2 separate regions of the Homo sapiens genome follow, and region 1 is linked to region 2. The links are contacts of gene promoters, found by promoter capture Hi-C in blood cells and fetal thymus (Javierre and others, 2016). All regions are on one chromosome and are shown on one strand. The core of a region is centred on a gene start or on the middle of the fragment in contact, and the rest is flanking DNA. Distances in the headings are between cores, read along the strand shown.

Region 1 (5,462 bases), core at 2,047-4,546, 680 kb after region 2:
GTACCTCTGGTTTGGAGGAAGGGTTGCCATGGTGAACACCTGGCAAGGGAGCGAGGGGAAGAGGGGAAGGAGGTGGAAGAGGGGAAGGAGGGGGCGAGCCGACAGCAGCAAGGACTATTTCCCGAGTCCTGACTGAAGTGGAGTGGAAGCTTTCTCTTCCTTCAGCCCCTCGCCCTGAGATGCAGTTTCCATGGAAACTCAAAGCCCATTGTCTTGTCCCTTCCCGCTGCCTTCTGCGTGTCCCTCCACATCCATGTCCCTGCTCCCACATCTCGGGTGGTCACGGCGGCCCTGCCCCTGCTGCCGCTCTCTGGTGTCTGCACATGGTGCCCAGGAGCCAGCCTTGCAGACACAGACGGTACCCTTGGGAAGCTCCTCTCCAGGGCACCTGATGCTGGGATAGAGAGAGAGAGGGAATAGTGAGGGCGAGGGCACGGACAGCCAGGAAGGTCCGGGGATGCCCGGAACCATCATCCCGTTCCTTGTCCGTCCTTTAGACGAACACAGAGCAGCCTCCTCCGGTAAGGCTTCTGCCCACCTGGGTGGGCGCCCAGTACCTGCAGTCCTGAAATTCACGCACCTTTCCTCTCCCTCCCAAGGCCTGAGGGAGAAGCAGCAGCTCCTCTCCTGTCTTTTGCTGGTTTTGTTTGTTTTTAAGACAATGTCTCGCTGGAGTGCAGTGGTGCGACCACAGCTCATTGCAACCTCAACCTCCTCGGTTCAAGCGATTCTCCCACCTCAGCCTCCTGAGTAGCTGGGCTCACAGGTGTGTGCCACCATGCCTGGCTAATTTTTTAAATTGTTTGTATAGACAGGGTCTCATCATGTTGCCCAGGCTGGTCTCCTGGCCTCAAGTGATCCTCCTACCTCTGGGCCTCCCAAAGCGCTGGGATTATAGGCACAAGCCACCGCGCCTGGCCAGGAGCTCCTCTCCTAAGAGGCCCTTTTTCACGGCCTCCAGCTTCCCACACCATGGCCAAGTGGGGCTGCTTCAGTGTCTCCCCTCAGGCAGCAGCAGCTAAGCAGCCAGGACTGCATGTGTGAGAAGGTGGGCCCCTGACAGCATGGGGCACCCACCGTGGGAATCAGTGAGAACCTGAGCTCCTGCCTTTGGGCCCCCATGCAGGGAAAGTGTCCCCTTCCCCTGGTAAATGTTCAGAACCTCCCAGAGCAGCTGCCACCTGGCTCTCAATTCGGGACACATTGCTCCCTGTACCCAGGACACATCCGTCCCCTCCCTGGGGCTGTGTTCTCATCTAGAAGGTGGGGGAGTGCACCATTGAGGGTTTCCGAGGTCCCCTGGAGTTCAGATTCTGCCTCTGTTCTTTCTGTCTCTGCTGCCCTCTTGTCAAGGGAGAACCTGAGTTGATGACAGTTTCTGTCATAAGAGAAAAAATAGAAAAAGCTCAGAGCTGACAGCCTGTAAAATTGCTTGATAAGGAGTATATAGTTGTCAAACAGCATGCAAATTTTTGCAAACCCAGGTGTGGCCCTTGGGAGAACCTTAGGGAAGTTGCTTCCTCCTTTCCGGCTGGGGATCCAGCTGGGGGCCAGGGGTGCCCAGCGGTTTCAAGGCTCACGGCGCACTCTAGTGGCAGAAGCTAGGCGCCTCTTCTACGTCTTCCCTCCGCCCTCGCCTCCTGCTGGGAGTGTTCATCCCTTATTCTGGAGCTTCTGTGCCCTCCGCACAGGCTCCCTGGGTCAGGGACCCCCAAACTCACAGAGCAGCCTCAGTGGAGAGCCTTGGTAAACATGCAACGAGGCCAGGCGCGGTGGCTCATGCCTGTAATCCCAGTGCTTTGGGAGGCTGAGCTGGGAAGATCCCTTGAGCCCAGGAGTTCCAGACTAGCCTGGGCAACATAGCAAGTCCCCATCTCTTAAAAAAAAATTTAATTAGCTGGGGGTAGTGCCGTGTGCCTGTAGTCCCAGCTACTTGGGAGGTGGAGGCAGGAGGATCACTTGAGCCTGGGAAGTCGAGGCTGCAGTCAGCTGTGATTGTGCCACTGCACTCCAGTCTGGACGACAGAGAGACCCTGTCTCAAAAAAATAAAAGCAAAAGTAAATACAAATTTTAAAATGCAACAAATACGCTTGGAGAGGCCGAGGCAGGTGGATCACCTGAGGTCAGGAGTTCGAGACCAGCCTGGCCAACATGGTGAAACCCTGTCTCTACTGAAAATACAAAAATTAGCTGGGCATGGTGGGAGGTGCCTATAATCCCAGCTACTTGGGAGGCTGAAGCAGGAGAATCACTTGAACCCAGGAGGCAGAGGCTGCAGTGAGCTGAGATCACACCAGCCTGGGTGACAGAGCGAGACTCCATCTCAAAATAATAATAATAGAATTTTTAAAGATAAAAATAAAATCCAACAAATAGAGTCTGTACCACTGGGCAGGGCTTAGGAATCTGCATTTTAAATTAGGGCCCTCATTTTCCAGTGTAGCTCCCCAGTGCAGAGGGTCCTCAGACCAGCCGACTCCGTGGCGACTGAGGAAACACAGATGAGGCCCTGCCCTTTGAGTGCTGCCAGCCTAGGGGAGGAGATCCCTGTGCTGTGCCTGAGACCCCACCCAGTTCCCCCAGGGAGATGACTGGGAAATGGCCAACACTTTTGAAGTGGCGAGAGACATGGTGCCATACTCCATCACATGGAACTGGCGTCCTCCTCGCTGCCATCCTGCCTGATGACAGCATCTCACAATGAGACCCCCAAGGTTCAGAGAGGCCAGGCCCTGTGTCCGTGGCTGCCCAGGGAGAAAGGGCAGTGTGATCTCCTGCCTCCCCAGCCTTCTGCAGATATCATGGCCATCTCCAGAAGGCTAGGATCGGCACCGTTTCCCTGCACCTTTAAAGACTGTTTGGGCCCGGCGTGGTGGCTCATGCCTGTAATCCCAGCACTTTTGGAGGCCTAGGTGGGCAGATCATGAGGTCAGGAGATCGAGATCATCCTGGCTAACACGGTGAAATCCTGTCTCTACTAAAAATACAAAAAATTAGCCAGGCATGGTGGCACTTGCCTGTAGTCCCAGCTACTCGGGAGGCTGAAACAGGAGAATCTCTTGAACCCGGGAGGTGGAGGTTGCAGTGAGTGGAGATCACACCACTGCACTCCAGCCTGGGTGACACAGTAGGAATCTGTCTCAAAAAACAAAACAAAACAAAACAAAAAACTGTTCGGAAGAACCAGAGCCCCAAATAGAGGACCAGCCCTTTCCCACGGTGTTGTGGGGGCCGAGAGGAAGATGACAGCAGCAACTTGCTTCCCAGAGTGCCTCGGGGTCCTTTCCTGCCCCAGAGTCCCTGGGCCTGTGCTTTGCTTCCCAGTTTCTCTGAGGTGACCTGCAGTGACAGTCCCTTTCCAGAACTCTCCTGGGGTCCCTGGATTTATGTGTGGTTGGCCCCCTGGCTGGCAGTGTGGTCTGGCTCTGTAGAGCTGTGGCTGCTGGGCCGCTGGATTGGGGGACTTGTTCTCCTGTGTCATCCCTTGGGGCCGCAGGTCTCAGATCTCTCTCTTGCTCTTGCTGCGTCTGGGGCATCTGCTGCTGTTATTACTGTTGTTACTAGGATTGTGCTAAACCCCTAAGTAGCTCGCCGTTGCTGTCTCATGCATTTTATTCAATAAATATGTGTCTACGAAGTGTCTGCTCTGTGCCAGGCCCTGCTCTAAGTTCCTGGCACAGCTGTGAACAGAATGAACATGGTCCTTGCTTTTATGGAGCATGTTACCCTGGGGAGAGACGAGGATTAGGGGAGGATGACCCTTCTATAAAGGGTGCCAGGGAAGGCCTCTCTAACCAAGGAGCCTCGGAGCAAGACTTCAATGGAAGGAGAGGGCCCTGTGGACATCTGAGGGAAGATTCTTCCAGATACAGGGAATGCGAAGCCCTGGAGCCTGTGCATGCGGTTTGCACATCATTGTCCTTGTCATGGCTTCCATGTGGGTGACCTCTGCCTCCCTCTCTCCCGCACCACCTCACCTGCCAGCAAACCAGACTGACTGCAGGTCCCGAGTGCCCCAGGCTGCCACCCTCACCCCATGCTTATGTCACATGGCTCCGCTCCGCTGAGCGGCCCCTCCTCCCACCCTGCACCCGTTTTCAGCTCCACCTTGGCGTCACCTCTGAAGCTCCCAGGCCACGCATACTTTGTAAAAAAGACTATTCTGGTCATTTATACACCTTCCCTGTTCACCTGAGCAGGGCTGACTCCCCACACGTGGTCAGCTCCCAATATGTGAGCACTCAGGGAATGACAAGGGACACAGAGTTTGTCCTCAAGCCAAGCCAGTTTCTCTGTCCTGTCCGGGGCTAGGAAATGAATTCTGAGTCTAGGTGCTGTCTCCAGGCTTTCACCCTGCCTTACAAAAAAGTGGGGAGCATGGTGCTGGTGAAGATGGGCCCTGCCCCTGCCTTGCCAGGCTTCTCCCGGAGGCAGCCAGCCGGGTGGTGTGCAGGCTTGGGAAGCAGCTACCCCCACCACCACCCACCACCATCCCACCCCCAGCTACACCGCCTCCCCTGTTTAACGATCTGGAGGTTGATTTGCTTACCTGCCTCCAAAATGCTGCTGCCTCTGGGGAGGAACTGACATCTGCTTAGTGGGCCACGCAAATCAAACCAGCTGATGGGGGGAAATGGGGACGAATGTGTCCATTGCAGCAGTGAGTGACTCTAAGATGGCCGCATTTCATCCCACTAGCAGAGCCGCCCCAGACGTGCTCGGCACCACTGCGGAAAGTGACCCCCAGCGCCTTGGCCATGGAGCCCTTGGGGCGCAGCCTCCTGCCCAAAGGTGGGGGAACACCCTTAATGAGGGTGCAGCTGGATTTGTGGTCAGTCCTGAAGAGCTCGTTCAGTCTGCCTGGATGGATGAGGCCCGAGGCCGTGGGTCACAGTGCAGTGGGCAGGAGCAGCAGCCTGTGTGGCAGGGCAGGGCTCCAAGTTGGGCTCTGTTCAGTGGGTCCTGCTCATGGCCCAGGAGAGGAGGCAGACATGGCCTTAATTAAATTCACAGCTGAAGTGATACTGGAAGGTTGTGTGAGCACCAGAGAGGCAGCCCTTGCTGTGTGGAGGGGAACTGGCAGGAAATAACACGAGCGCCTTCCACCTGGGGAAAGGCAGCCAGCGCTCCGAGGACATGGGCTCCCCGCTCCAGCGCCTGACACCTCGCAGGCCTGCAGGTGTCAGGCCTGCCTCGCTACTCCCCTGCACTCCCTCCGGAGGTCCGAGAGCAGGAATCCAGCCAAAGGAACCGCAGGCCTCATCTCAGGACTGTAAAGAGAGTGGGAAGGAATGGTAGAGGCCTGGGGAAGAAGAGAAATCAGCTTCTCTGGCCGGGGGCGGGGGACAGCTTTCTCTCCCCCTTCCCTCCCTACAGGCAGCGCGTTCCTCTCTGTCCTCCCTTCAAAGGCGCGTCCTAAGCAGTGTGATCCACCCCACGGTGGCAGCTCTTGGCCAGCGCC
Region 2 (3,464 bases), core at 932-3,431:
TTGAGACAGAGTCTCGTTCTGTCGCCCAGGCTGGAGTGCAGTGGCGCGATCTCGGCTCACTGCAAGCTCCGCCTCCCGGGTTCACGCCATTCTCCTGCTTCAGCCTCCCGAGTAGCTGGGACTACAGCCACTACACCCGGCTAATTTTTTTTTTTTTTTTTTTGTATTTTTACTAGAGATGAGGTTTCACCGTGTTAGCCAGGATGGTCTCAATCTCCTGACCTCATGATCTGCCCGTCTCGGCCTCCCAAAGTGCTGGGATTATAGGCGTGAGCCACCGCGGATGCTGGGCATCTTTTTATGTGCTGAGTTGCCGTGTGTATATCTTCTTTGGTGAGGTGTATAACTATTCAAATCTTTTGCCCATTTTTTAAAAAGTGGGTCCTCTTATTATTATTGAGTTCGAACGTTCTTTATTTGGGATGCAAGTTCTTTAGATCTATGCTTTGCAAATATTTTCTCCCAGACTATCGTTTGTCTTTTCATACATTCTTTTAACAATGTCTTTTAAAGAACAGAAGTTCTTAATTTTGATAAAGTCCAGTTTATCAATTGTTTCTTTTATGAATCATGTTCTTCATGATTTTTTTTTTTTTTTTTTTTTTTTGAGACGGAGTCTCGCTCTGTTGCCAGGCTGGAGTGCTGTGGCGCGATCTCGGCTCACTGCAACCTCCACCTCCTGGGTTCAAGTGATTCTCCTGCCTCAGCCTCCCAAGTAGCTGGGACTACAGGAGCTCGCCACCACGCCCGGCTAATTTTTGTATTTTTAGTAGAGACCGGGTTCACCATGTTGGCCAGGATGGTCTCAATCACTTGACCTTGTGATCCATCCACCTTGGCCTCCCAAGGTGCTGGGATTACAGGCGTGAACCACTGCGCCCGGCCTTCTCTTGTGCTTTCTTCTAAAAGTTTTATATAGTCATAGTAGACACCTTATAAGTGTGCTGGATTAAATGTGAAAATGTATGTAAAGCCCTTAGCACAAGGCCTGGTAGAGACTAAACAATCAGCTGAGCCTAAGATGGACATTGACTATGTAATTTTTATAAGGAGCACCCTCAGGCCCAGCACACATTTCCTCCACACAGATGTTGTGTCCTGTCATCACAGAATGGCAGGATACCAGAGAAGCAAAAGCCTCCACCCATATCCTCATCCAACCTGCTCCTGGAACCAGTGAAGGTGACTGCAGACATAGAGAGGCCATAGAGCTACAGGGCAGCAGGAGAGCCAGCCCTGGAAGGTGGCCCTTCCCCTGCAGGGAGCACTCCTCCATCTAGCCTCCGTTTCCATGAAACCTGGAGGTCTAGCCCAAGCTGTGATGGGGTGATGGGGACTAGGCTCTGTTTACTGAGCACCTACTGTATGCTAGGCCCTTGGGTAAGGCATTGAATAAGTTAGACAACACCTGGGCCTCGGGAGCTCACAGACTAGCAGCAGAAGAGGCCATGAACAAATGATTGCGTAATTAATTGCTAGATTCAGGAAAGGGGCAACGTTCTGGGGTAGGAGGGGATGGGGAAGAGGAAGTCTCAGCCGCCGCCTCTGTGCCAGGCCCCTCCAGGCTGGGGGTGGGAGGGTGCGCGGGCACAGGGACACACATGACGTCATCGTAAGAGGCAGGGGAAGGGTGGTCCTGGGAGGTGGGGGCTGCTCTGGAGGGCTGTAAGAGAGGGTCATTCACTCGTGGTTCATTCATTCGAGAAATATTCATGCGGCGCCTACTGCGTACCAAGCACCCTCTAAGAAGGACGAACACAGCTCCTGCCCTCTCATTATATTTGGGGCCGACAAAGTGGCAGGAAACAGCCAAACAAATCAAGCGTGAAGATGGTTTCAGCAGAGCCGACGGCTCAGAGGGGCTGCGACCGGGGCAGGGGACCGGGGATGCGGGGCAGGGACACGGCCCACACTTGCTGTGCACGCACCGCCCTCCCCCAAACACTTTGCAAAGAGGTCACCGCACTGGCTGCGAGCGCGCCCTGAGCCCCGGGCCGCAGCACGCGCGCCCCCGCGCCCGAGGTCGCGCGCTGCCCAGCCCCCCGCCCGCGCCCCGCGAGCTGCGCCCGCCGCGCACGACGCCCCCTCGCGGGAGCCCTGGGCCGCCGGCCGCGCGCGCAGGGGAGGGGGCGGGGGCGCCGCGCACGCGCACGGGCCGGCGGCGCGCGCCGAGCGGGGGGCACCGCGCGGGTGCAGCCACGATGGAAGGGGGTGCGTACGGAGCGGGCAAAGCCGGGGGCGCCTTCGACCCCTACACCCTGGTCCGGCAGCCGCACACCATCCTGCGCGTCGTGTCTTGGGTAAGGACGGACTGGCCGACGGCTCTGCCAGGCCGGGGTGGTGGGGGTGTGAGCAAAGGCGGCGCGCCCGGACCGACCCCGACCCCGACCCCAACGGGCCCCCGGCGGCGGCGCGGCGGCGGGCGAGGAGCTGTCCTGCCTGCGGGGCCCGCTGCCGCCGCTCCTCCTTCCCGGGCCCGGGGCGGGCGGGATCCCTGGTGCTCGCGGGAGACGCCGCTCCGGCTCCCGGAGCCCTGGTTTCCTGGGGCCCCCGGTTCGTGCGCCCCCCTTCCCGCCCCGATTGCTGTGACCTCCAGGCCGCGGCTATGCCGCGAAAGGCTCGGATTGTGCGCGGCCGCCAGGGCGGACTGGGGACCGTGGGGACGGAGCCAGGGTTTAAGGTGGCCTTTTTTGGGGGGTGGATCAGGGCGTGGACCATCTCGGTGGGGTGCATGCCGCGCCTGCGATGGACGTTGGAGGAGGAGAGGGCCGGGAACCGGGTTCGTATTGCCTAGCCCGGCCCGTGTGGAGCGATGAGTCGGGAACTGAGTACCTCTCTTCCACCCGGGAACTGCCTCTCCTTCTCTGCGTGACCTTGGGCTGGGAGCCACCCAGGAAATGTTCTCGAGAAATGAGGACTTCAATTCCGAGGTGGGGAGTGTCATCTCCTCTCTCATGCCTCAGTTTCCCAATTTATAGACAAGGTGGGCGGAGCCTTCTTGAGGCCCCCTTGGGCTCTGACATTTCATGAACCGGTAACACCCCTCCCACTCAGCATGCACCTGGATGCCCAAGGCGGGTGTCTGGGAGAAAGGTCTGCTCCCACAGTGAAGAGGCCAGGGTGGCCTCCAGCCTAGCTGGGGGGCAGGGTCCTCAGTGCAGAGGGCTGAGTGGGCTCTTGTTCAGACGGGTGGTCAGGGAGAGGATGGGTCAGAGACAGTGAGCACAGAGGGAGGGGTTCAGGTGCCTTGAGTGGCACCTCATGGAAAGAAGCCCTGCTGGGGTCTGGAGAGGGGGTTTCTGGGGCTCCCTGGGTTTGGCTGGCTGTATCCCAGAAACTCCCACTCGAGGTTCTGGCCTCTGCAGGCCTGGGGCCCGTTCCTTGTGGGCTTAGACTAGGAATGGGCTAGACTGTCAGGGACCCCAGGGGCTACCCCAAGGCCAGCTGTGACCTCAGGGTGCCCA

What was found. Contacts are between HindIII fragments. The CHiCAGO score rates a contact against its expected background, and 5 or more counts as called.
Region 1: a contact is called between a fragment that was not itself captured here and the fragment with the promoter of SYNGR1 in region 2, in 1 of 17 cell types (total B cells). The highest score is 5.2, in total B cells.

The regions. Positions count from the first base shown.
Region 1 is chr22:40,023,377-40,028,838 of GRCh38, forward strand. The region is part of intron 4 of FAM83F (family with sequence similarity 83 member F); the gene reads left to right. Among named protein-coding and RNA genes, the nearest start is that of TNRC6B-DT, 18 kb to the right of the region's middle. RefSeq lists enhancers at 1-305, 1,724-1,793. The HindIII fragment of the contact is 6,298 bases long and covers 148-5,462 here.
Region 2 is chr22:39,347,810-39,351,273 of GRCh38, forward strand. It overlaps SYNGR1 (synaptogyrin 1), which reads left to right and starts at 2,182. Exons shown (of 4, transcript NM_004711.5): 1 at 2,182-2,300. The coding sequence starts at 2,202. RefSeq lists a silencer at 2,229-2,388. The HindIII fragment of the contact is 7,483 bases long and covers 1-3,464 here.